Linked DNA regions of Homo sapiens: region 2 is linked to region 1. Evidence: promoter capture Hi-C in human tissues and cell types (Jung and others, 2019). All regions are on one chromosome and are shown on one strand. The core of a region is centred on a gene start or on the middle of the fragment in contact, and the rest is flanking DNA. Distances in the headings are between cores, read along the strand shown. Region 1 holds the start of SYNE1 (spectrin repeat containing nuclear envelope protein 1). Region 2 overlaps SYNE1 (spectrin repeat containing nuclear envelope protein 1).

The links. The method cuts DNA at HindIII sites, captures the fragments that hold promoters and counts their contacts. A contact is called where the count stands out against the background at its distance.
Region 2: a fragment that was not itself captured here is called in contact with the fragment with the promoter of SYNE1 in region 1 in 1 of the 25 tissues and cell types used here (hippocampus).

What each region holds. Positions count from the first base shown.
Region 1 is chr6:152,633,921-152,639,673 of GRCh38, reverse strand. SYNE1 (spectrin repeat containing nuclear envelope protein 1) reads left to right here and starts at 2,312. Exons shown (of 146, transcript NM_182961.4): 1 at 2,312-2,485; 2 at 2,869-3,036. RefSeq lists an enhancer at 4,685-4,814. The HindIII fragment of the contact is 20,643 bases long and covers 1-5,753 here.
Region 2 is chr6:152,457,328-152,463,080 of GRCh38, reverse strand. SYNE1 (spectrin repeat containing nuclear envelope protein 1) reads left to right here. Exons shown (of 146, transcript NM_182961.4): 20 at 191-343; 21 at 1,341-1,484; 22 at 4,151-4,324. Among named protein-coding and RNA genes, the nearest start is that of SYNE1-AS2, 58 kb to the right of the region's middle. The HindIII fragment of the contact is 8,676 bases long and covers 1-5,753 here.

The DNA.
Region 1 (5,753 bases), core at 1,063-3,562:
TAATTTTTTATATTTTTAGTAGAGATGGGGTTTCACCATGTTGGTGAAGCTGGTCTTGATCTCTTGACCTTGTGATCTGCCTGCCTCGGCCTTCCAAAGTGCTGGGATTACATGCATGAGCCACCGTGCCTGGCCAATTTTTGTATTTTTAGTAGAGATGGGGTTTCACCATGTTGGCCAGGCTGGTCTCGAACTCCTGTCCTCAAGTGATCTGTCTGCCTTGGCCTCCCAAAATGCTGGGATTACAGGTGTGAGCCACCATGCCTGGCCAACTCCCGTTCTTGAAAGCTCTCATAGCAACATTTGCCTTTGCTTGGAGAATGGGGTTTTATAAGTATTTGTGTGGTTCTCTGATGAATGTCTGGCTCTTCCCCCATCATACTGTAAGCTCCATGAAGGCAAGAGCCCGGTCAGAGTTTGCTTACCACGGTAGCCCCAGCACTTAGGACAATATTTGTTATGTGGTAAGTGTTCAAGCAATAGCTGTTGAGTAAATGGAGCTACAACACCCTTCCCTGGGGTGTGTGAAACTGACAAGCCCTTTGCAAAACTCTAAAATGTGCTTAGTCCTTCTACAGAGGATAAAGTTTAGCTGAGAATGGGATTTCAGCTGTATAGGGAATCAATGCCAGCAAGACAGCTCTATGCTTCTGTCTGTCTCAGCCTGTGAGAACAGAGATTAGGCCTAGTAGAGGAGTTTTAGTTGGTGGAAGCAATGTTTCAGGCTTGTGTTTTAAGTGGCTCACTTCTCAAGTAAGTAAACCCAAGAAAGTAGTTGCTTAACGTGTAGAATAGCAAGTTGGTGGCCAGGTGCAGTGGCTCACACCTGTAATCCCAGCACTTTGGGAGGCCGAGCTGGATGGGTCACCTGAGGTCGGAAGTTTGAGACCAGCCTGACCAACATGAAGGAACCCTGTCTCTACTAAAAATACAAAATTAGCCAGGTGTGGTGACGCATCCCTGTAATCTCAGCTACTCAGGAGGCTGAGGCAGGATAATTGCTTGAACCTGGGAGGCGGAGGTTGCAGTGAGCCGAGATTGCACCATTGCACCCCAGCCTGGGGAACAAGAGCGAAACTCCATCTCAAACAAACAAACAAACAAAAAGAATGGCAAAGTTGGCACAATAACTTTCTACCCATCTTCAAAAGCCGGCAGGGTGGATTGATTCTATGAAGGTAGGGATTGAGAGGGTGAGCTGAGCCATTCTGATCTGTTTCTTCTGAGTGGCAAGCCTGGAAATCTGGACCCCATTTTGTGGCCACTGGGCACAGAGGGCTGACCTGGAATAATTATGCTCTGGTGGTTGTCTCCACAAGGGGCTCTGGGGGTGCCCCAGGATTGTTGCCCTCAGGCAGAGGCAGGGCATACATTGAGAGTGATCCCAAACACTCCTCCTCCAGGCCCAACTTTTGGAGGTAGCAAGTTCTGCAAATAGAGATCCATTGTTTGGTTTCTCTCTCTAAAAAAAAACAAAAGTCAGCACAAAGAAGAGGAACACATCAGATTGGTTTACCAGATTTGTTTCAGATGTTATTATTTTGACACGATCCAGAAGAAGGAGAATTTGAAGAAAATGGAAAGCTAGGCAGTGGGAATGTTGGCAGCAGGTAAGGGAAAGGCAGGCAGCAAAGAGAAACTTCATCTACTTTATAAACTGCTCCTTCCTTTCAGCAAATTTAGAGGATAAATGACTGTTTTGTTCAGATTGGAGATTCAAGGGGGGGATTATTACTTTTAAGATTATTGCAACATGGCTTCGATTATTTTAGCTGCAATCATCCTGTTGGACTTGGACTTCACTGTTGGTGAAGAGAGACTGTGTTTGACTTTGCCTGGATACCATAAAACCACAACAAAATAAATTCTCCTGAATGCTACCAGGCAACACCAAGATCTCTTACACCACGAGAAGGACTTGTGGCCAAAGATACAAATGGCTCCGCAATGTACAGGGTGCATACAGTGCACCTGAAGAACCTAAAAGTGGTTTTTAGAATCATCATAATAAACAGTCAAGAATTAAAGATGTCAAGCGCTTTCTCAAGAAGTCTAAACTTTATACATAACATTAAAAAAGATCTATAAAGCCTGACCAGTCTCCCTCAAATTAAGTTATTTGCTACTGACTTGGCAGCCAAAACGATTTAGGATCTTTCGGAAGTTGATGAAAAAGGAGCCAGCGGGTTTTGCTCTTTGCTCTGCATCACGCCCTTCCTGGGACCATCAGGGAACCTCCCAGCCTTTCAGGATAGGTTCCGCTCAGAAAGGTCACCCGGGCAGTGGAAACCGTGGGCAAAAGTTAGCTGGCAGGACAGCGCAGCTCCTCCAGGCAGCGGAGGCAGCGCGTCCCGGCTCTCAGGGACATTTCCTTCCCACCTCGACCCCCGGGAGGTGGTCCCGGTATAAAGGCTCGCTGAGCGGGTGGGTCACAGCACAGCTTTGCAGCTGCGGAGAAACGCCCAAGGCCGTGCATCTCCAGGAGGTAGGGAAGCCTGCGAGCCTCCGGGTCCCCGCCCCCAGCTCTTCCAGGCACCGGCGCATCCCGGAGCCGGGCGCGGGGCGCGGGGCACGGAGCCGGGGAGGGGGTGTGGCGGGCCAGGGCGGTGCAGGGACCCTGCCCAGAGGCTGAACCGGCCTGGGCGACCTTCCTTCCCGACAGGAGCAGTAGATGCGTGGGGGAGGGCGAAGGGGGAGGCCTCACCCCCCAGCGAGCAGCCGGGAGGAGGAACCGGTCGCGGAGGGCGGGGAGCGCGGCTGAGCAGCCCGGCGCGGGAGTGAGTGTGGGCGAGCCAGCCAGGGTGAGCGCGGGCGCCGGGCCGCGGCCGCCGGCCGCAGCGGGCTGAGATTGTTGTCCTCTGTCACCAGGGCGGCTGGGCTCCCGCAGTCCTGCAGACCGCGCCCGATCCCGGCGACAGGGCGGGCGGACAGCCGCGCATCCCCGGGGTCCCGCCGAGCCTGGGCGCAGAGAGCCGGGAGGAAGCGTTCGCTCGCTTCGCCTTGCTGCTGGGAAACTGAACGAGGCCGAGAGAGAAGGTAAAAGGAAAGACAGAGACTGGGAGACAGGGAGAGACAGAGACAGGGAGAGGAGAGAGAGGTGCAAGACGAACACATTGCAGACAAATTGTCAGCAAGTTTGTGCCTGCACGCTGGGGCTCTGCGTGCTTGATGGGAGGGGGTGGTGGCAGTGATGTGTGTACGTGTGCGATACTCATAGATAAGGAGACTAGGAGGTTGGGGAGCCTCTTTGCATCTCGTACGTAGATGTCCCTATTAATATCCCCCTCTCTGAGTTGTCATTTCCGCTTGTGGCACATCTCCTGGGCTCCAATGGTGCAGAAGCAAAAGGCAGCCAGCCTCTTATTGTGATGGTCGGTACTGTTGCTACTATCAGATGGGAGAGGTAGGGCGTTGAACAGATTCTAGGAGCCTCCCTTCCTCCACCCCCTGACTATTTTAGGAAGGGCTGGGGGAGGGAAATGGCTTGAAGGCTGCGCGGAGGCCCTGGCGCGTCAGACTCCAGCGGCGCTGTCATGGTGCAGTTGCTTCCCGGCAGAGCCTGCACTAGAGGGCAAGAGAACTTTCGTCTCCTCTTTATAAAGATACGTTTCACATAGAGAGATCTTGCATTGCTGGCGGAGGAGTTCTGGGAAATGGTGGTGCACAGGCGGCCAGGTGCATCCCAACGGGCAGGCATCCGTGCAAAACGAAGCAGCCATCAGCCGCACAGGAAGAAGCCCCTTGGGAAGGCAGGCTGGGTGTGCTGACTGGGATCCCAGACTTTGGATGCTGGAAGTTCTGCCCCCTTCCGTAAATAGAGTCAGGTCCAGCCCAGAGGGAAATATCAGCAATGAAGCCTTAGCATCCCACAATGTTCATTTCTGAGCTTTTCGTTTTGGGGTGGAAAACTTGTATCTGAAATGTTCCTGTGAATGTTAAGAAAGTTAAAAATGAATTATTTTTCTCTTCTTTAATGCCCATCCATTTTTTGTCTTCATCTGAGAATGACTTTCCTAAAGACAACATTCGTATACAGAAGCCAGACCTATGCAAGAGAAAGTATAATAATTTTCAATGAGGCAAAGGTCATTAATATGACCTACATCTTCATAAAATGCGAATTTAATCACGAGTCATGACGATTGTTCTTTGAGAGGCTTTTTATTCCCCATGGTGAAAAAAGATTTGTAGTATGGCTAAAAAGTTCCTGATATCACCGGAACAGTGTGACAAAATACATATCTATTTTTTCTTTTCTGTTCATTACTTTGTGGCAGATTTAGAACAAAATGTGAGAGATCTATACTAACTTAATATGTTTCATGCTGAAGATTAAGAAACAGCTTCAGACTGACCCAGATAACAATATTTGCTAGGCTTTGGAAATATTTGCCTAGCTCTTATTTTATAGTCTCACTTTCATCTTTCTGAACTAATGATTTTCACAAACTGGTTTTCTTCTGTCCTCATTGACCTCATTTAAGAACTCTTTTTTACTTGAGTCCTTCCTGCCAGGGAGAGGAGATTGGAAAAAGCTAGTTTGCCATTTAAAAATGTTCAAGAATTGTTTGGTGCTGCACTGGGCCTACTTTCTGATAACTATGCTGCACACACAGCATCTTGGAAATGAAAGGAGGTGTGACTGTCACAGGATGTAGGAAGCCCATAACTGGGCAAGGTTGGTGGCATTTTCACAACTCCAGCTCTAGCTACTGCAGCCACACCCTGTGGTCTGAATGTGACAGGCATGCAGGGCCCAAACGCCTCTGCGAGGTCCTCTGTGTGTCTCCTCTTAAATGTGTACTTCTTTGTGGTCTAATCTAACGAGAACTAATGTTTGGCAAGGTGTGCAATATACTGTAGCAAGGGAAAAAAAGAAGGTTGCAGATGTCTTTGGTTGTAATTTATACTTTAGGCTTACAATAAACAAAATTTAATTATGACACTGAACATCTTTCATGCTGATTTCTGCTATACACTTTGTCTTTTGCTTACTTGTTCATGTTCTTCTATGGAAAAGATCATTTCTTATTGTTACTCTGTATAATTCATACTAGTGAATAAGAAACAGCATTGTTCCCTGATAACCTGCACACATTTATTAGTAATATACTTACATTAATTCAAAGATATCCCTGTTCTTCTCTTTTAGCCATCTTAGTATTCATTAATTAGTACCATTATTAATGGGTGAATAGAGAAAAAAATAATTAAATTTAAAATTAAACAGTATGTGAACTCTCTTCAGCAAAAGACTTGAATAGAAGGGAAACTGAAATTTATTCATGACTAAAAATTTTATTCAATAGTGGGTTTCAATATTAGTGCTATTCTTATACATGTTTAGACATTTAATTAATATCTGTACTTCCTGCTGTTGTGAATCTGTTTATGTGTTTATGTTCTCAGTTCATTTTCTTTTTGGTTAGAAATGAGCCACGTTGTCTCTGGTCATTGCAGGGTTTGAAATTTTCTGCAGTAGTTTCCTAATACCTAGAAATTCAGTTGCATTGCTTATATATATTCTTGTGGCTCAGTAGTATTTCTTCAGTGCTTTTCTTAGTGTATTCCTTTTTAGTCACACAAACAAGAAACTGCTTTAAGAGCCAATGTCCATTCTGCCAAGAGACAGAAAAAATTGAGTTGTGCTATTTCACAACTGTGTTTTTTCACAGGGAGTGATGTTAAGAAGAGTATGCCTTTCAACTGGGAGCATCCCAAATAGCAGGTAGTCCAAATTCCTAAGAAGAGTA
Region 2 (5,753 bases), core at 1,187-3,686, 180 kb after region 1:
TTTCATGCTAGTTTCTTTTTTTCTTTCAAACTAATTGGACTTACTTCAAATTTATCTAAAATGAGAATCAAAGATTAGAGTCTTTCTTACCGGATAACAATTCCAGCGAATATGTGAAAGTGAAAGTTGTGGTTCCAGTGGTCGCAGCTAAATGGCTTTCACGATGTTCCCTCCTCCCTTTCCTTAACAGTATGCTCAAGCTGATGAGATGGACAGAATGAAGAAGGAATACACAGACTGTGTTGTTACCCTGTCTGCTTTTGCAACGGAAGCCCATAAGAAACTTTCTGAACCCTTAGAAGTCTCTTTTATGAATGTCAAGCTATTAATTCAAGACTTGGAGGTGAGGGGTTTCTGAATCAAAATGAAAAGCCTACTCTGTTGTGAGAGGAAAGATCAGCAAGTTTATTCAGATCATTGCAAAAGCTGTTTCTGTGTCTCCTGGGCATCATTTTGACATGTCTGTATGTCCCAATTTGCACCTGTCAGAAAAAAATGTATTGAACATAAAAAAGACATGACTTGATCATATAAAGTAACTTCAAATTGTTTCTCAGTTTGGAGATTTTTTTTTTCTACAACCAAGTTAAAAAGTATTAGGAAAAAACAGGAGACATCTATAGATAGCACCCGCACCTAAATACTTTCAATAATAAAGGATTTATTGCATGAACTGTGGTATTTGCATATTTTGAATAGCCTGCAGCTCTCACAAATGAAGTAGTGGAAGAATTTTTAATGACATGGTAAGATTTTGCAATATATTGTTACATGAGAAAAGCAAACAACAGTATCATTCTTTTGTCTTTGTAAAAATTTTAAAATGGGTGTAAACACAGGAAAAAAAAACTTAATGATGTATAGATAAGATGTTGGCTTTGGGTTTTACTGTGGGAGAAGACTATAAGTAATTTAAATTGTCATTATCCTAATATTTCTAATTTATAAGTTTTTATAATGGCAATGAGTTACTTTTTTTTTTTTTAACGAAAACCAGTCTAATTTTTAAAGTCAGAATTCCCCCACATTTTAAATATACATTTACATTTTATTTTATATTTCCATACTACATTAACATGGGATTTGTTTTGGAAAGTACAAAGATCATTTCAGCTAATCTTGATGTTTTGGTCACTTTTAAAGGAAAATTTTATTAACTATATAATATTACCAATATTTATTAGTAATGAAGGGAAGCAAAAACTGGAATCGTCGAAAGTTTAGTGTAAGTATTGGATTTTATACAGTGCATATTGATTTTTGTTCTGCCTTCTGTGGAATCCGGAAGTTAAGAGGAAATGTGTCATGTATGAATCTGGCTGTTTCAATGATTCATGCAGGATATTGAGCAGAGGGTGCCTGTGATGGATGCCCAATACAAGATAATTACAAAGACAGCACACCTCATTACCAAAGAAAGCCCCCAAGAAGAAGGAAAAGAAATGTTTGCGACCATGTCAAAGCTCAAAGAGCAGCTAACCAAGGTGCGAAAATAATTTAATGCACAATAGGCTGTGTGACACCAACAGTGCCTTCAGCTTGCTTGCTACCTCCTTCTCCCCATGGGCAAAGTGTTTACTTGTTAACGATGCTTTTGTTTCTAATTGGGATTCTCAATTTAGTAACTTTGTCATGAATTAAAAAAAATAAAACTATGATGCTGATACCAAGTATTACCTCTGTTAATTTAGAAGTATTATAGCTATATTTTAATAGAAAGTTAGATACTTTTGGGGAACGGTTACATGTGATAAAACCAAGAGAGGGAAAGAGAGATAAAGAGAAAAAGGAGATGAGGAGGAGGAAGAAGAGGGGATCATAAATTTAAATGAGAATTGGTTAAGATTTGTTTGATATATCTCCACTCCAAACTTATTTGTGCAATTTTCTGCAAGCATAGCCACAAAGCTGTGGAAATTCTGACCTCCTCATCTCATGGAGCTCACTTAGGCTTAGAATATATACATTTAGGCCAGGTGCAGTGGCTCACGCCTATAATCCAGCACTTTGGGAGGCCGAGGCGAGCAGATCACAAGGTCAGGAGTTCGAGACCAGCCTGACCAACATGATGAAACATCGTCTCTACTTAAAAATACAAAAATTAGCCAGGCATGGTGTCGTGCACCTATAATCCCAGCTACTCAGGAGCCTGAGGCAGGAGAATCACTTGAACCCGGGAGGCAGAGGTTGCAGTGAGCCCAGATCGCGCCATTTCACTCCAGCCTAGGTGACAGGGCGAGACTCTTTGTCTCAAAAAAAAAAAAAAAAAAAAAAAAAAAAAGATTATATACATTTATACCTTTTCTGTACAGGGAACTAGATGGATGTAAGCACTAGTCATAAGCATTTTCTAGTCTATTCAGTGATTTTCCTTAAGAGCTTTGGAAGTTCCATTGGGATTTGTTATCTATCCAAATATGAATTTTAGGAAGATGGTATTGTTTGCAAAATCCACCTAGATTGGGTAATTAATTTCTAGTAAAAGAGAGAAGTGATTATAATAAATGAATGGAAATATTTTAAAATGAAGAATGGGAAAACAAAGTAGAAACAAAGTAGAAGACCCTGTTAAATAGGAAAGAAAGGTAGAAAGGAAGAGAATAACCTCTGTGACATCAGTGGTAGGGAATTAATGAAAAAGAATGCATTCAAAAAGCTAAAATAGGAAAAATCATGACCATAAAAAAGAGAAAATTTTATCTATCAATATGGTATGTATGAGAATGTTTATGTTCAGTTCATTTTATTTTAACATTCAAGTTAGAATTATTTATAATTTAAAGGTTGTGGGCAATAATGATAATATTGGCTACTAGTAAAAGCTGCTAAACAATAAGTACAATTTGAAGTCAACATTTCCAATTTGATAACTCCCCAGCAGCTTTCAGGGCCATAGCTGGGCTTGCACATCTTAGCCTGAGCCATGCTTAGGTGTTCAGGACAACCCCTGAGAAAGCAAATTGTCATTTGCCTTTTTACTGTTTCAGATGCAGCATCTTGATAGGTTTTCTCTTCTACCCAGGAGAGATCAATAAAACACACTGATTTGTATACACATTAGTAGACTCTCTTGGTTTTGTTCAAGGTAATTATATCAGAGTCTTGTTGCAGTAGCAGGATGGTAACTTTCTTTTGATGAGTGTATACTTCAGGCAGTATATCCTAGAACATAAAAACGTTTCTTCATACATAATTCTATGTTTAACAGTAGAGCAAAATGTTGCCCTCTCCCACTTTCTTCAAGGATTACTTTTTGGAATATGCCTCATCTGGTTAGAACATTATTGTCTTTATACTATATGAAAAACAAAGAATGGCTTACTAACAAATACTGATTAATTTCCTTTCCCTGGTTATCTGAAAGTATGAGAAGAGGTGGGAAGTTCTTGGAGGATGAAGAGTAGACACCTCCTGGAGCTCTTGATTTCCAGGAGCTAGTGGCCTCATCTTTAAGACAATGCAGGTCTATAAACTAAAACATGTTTTACAAGACAAGTGACAGGTAAGGGCTGCATCAGTTTGGACTACAGAGCCCTCCCCTAGCATGGGAAGCTTCATGAATAAATTGGTGTGACTTTAGTGCTTCGGATGAGTAGGATGTTGATAAGCAGGGAGCAGCAAAGCATGGAGCTGGTGGGAGGCAGGAAAGCACAGGCCTGTCTGGGAAGAGTGAGTCAACAGGTTTCTAAGTTTATCAGCAGTCAAGGGTTCAAGTAGGCGATCTCTTGAAAACAAAGCTGGAAGACACAGGTTGGTCTAGGTAATATAATAATAATTCATGACTGTCTTAGGTCAGATTTCAAGGCCAAAGTGAAAATGAGTTGCATGGTTTATGAAGTATAATTTGATGCCATCTGGCTCACTAAAAACAATCATTTAGATGAGAAAGTGCTATCCAGATGGACGATTTAGATGAATTTTCATGAGAAAACTCAGTAGCCATTTATTTGTCTCAGTGGTACAGCACTATTATTTTTCACAGCAAAATTTGACAATATAGAGGAAATATCATTAAAGAAATGTCTTTGGATATTTGTAAGCACCAAATGATCATGTCACTAAAGAAAATGTTCCTCAGAGCTATGAACGTTCCCTGAGCTAGTGGCACTTAATGGTCTTTCATGGAATTTTTGTCTTTATGTTTTTAAAGGTCAAAGAATGTTACTCCCCACTCCTTTATGAGTCTCAGCAGCTGTTGATTCCGTTGGAGGAATTAGAAAAGCAGATGACGTCCTTTTATGACTCACTTGGGAAAATCAATGAAATTATCACAGTTCTTGAGCGTGAGGCACAATCGAGTGCCCTTTTTAAACAAAAACATCAGGTGAGAACAATCCTTTTCAGGAGACAATTATTCTAAAGCATGTGTAACAAGACCAGGGTGTTGCTTACAGGAATAGAAATTCAGTGAGGACAAGAAACATTTTTCTAGAATAGTACTACTAACTCAAAACAAAAATACATGTCTTGTCCAAAGATGAAAATCCATTCACTGTCAGTGCAGGGGCTATGTGAGCTGTTTGTTTCCAGGGAATGGTCTAGCTGGACTCAGGTGCAAACCAGGCTCATTCATCTGAATCAGTAAGTTCACTGAGTTGAGCAAAGTTAGAAAAAATGGTTTGTTTTGAGCACCCAGCTCCCCTTTCTATCAATGGAGCAACATTGTGATCTGGCAATACTCAGCAAGCATTTATAAACATCTGCTGTGTGCACGCGTAAGCCATGCATCCTGAGCCCCAACTACAGAAAGTGCAAAGTTCACAATGTCTCTGTGAAATAAGGGATGTGTTATAGAGATGGAGCCAAATCCGCCACTCTAACTTCAAACATTAAGGGTACCCATAATCAAAGGACTTTCTATTATTTCTCTGCTTTGTATTTATTTACTTTTCTTAGAGTTCCTGCCTACTAGCAATAGACCACATATAGTCTATCCTTTTAAAAATACAGATAAGAATTTATTTACATTAAACTTTTTATGGGCTTTGTTCATGAAACGTGATCCCTAGGTTTGCTAGTAGAAAGACACTATAAGAAAATTAAATAAATATCCTGTCTCTACATTACATAACTAAAAGATAAATATATATAAATTTTATATGTATAAAACTTATACAGAGAGGATATTTATATAAAATATATAAATATTTGTATTATATATACAGATATAATATTTTCCTTCTTATATTGACTTTCTTTTGGAGAATCATTTACTGTTGCTTCCCACACATAGCTTTAGGCATTACCTGCTGCCTTGCTGATTGACGAAATGGTTAATTTCACTTAAAAAGGCATACGTGCCTTCTTTTCTTGATACTTTGAAAACAGATAGATAGATAGATAGACAGATAATTTGATATATATTTATATACATATAATAAAAACAATTGCTTTCCATTTTCATCCAGTATCCATAACCTCTGACTTATGAGATCTTTACTTTGCTTCTTGAAATATGACAGTTTAAACAACCTTGAAACTCTGGAAATGTGTTTGATGTGATAATCATTTTTCTTTGTCTCATTTTTAGTAAACAGATTGTATGCATAACAGTCTCCTACTGAGTGTTGTAGTTAATTGGGTTATTTGGTTTATTATAATGAACCTGTCCATCAGAGGAGAGAGACACTAATGTACAAAAGGTTTGCCACTGCATTAATTGACATAGGTTCATGGGAGGAAGGTAGCATCATTAGTAGAAAGAGCCGAGAGTGTCTGAAATGAGTCTGACAGATATTCAGATCTTAGATCTA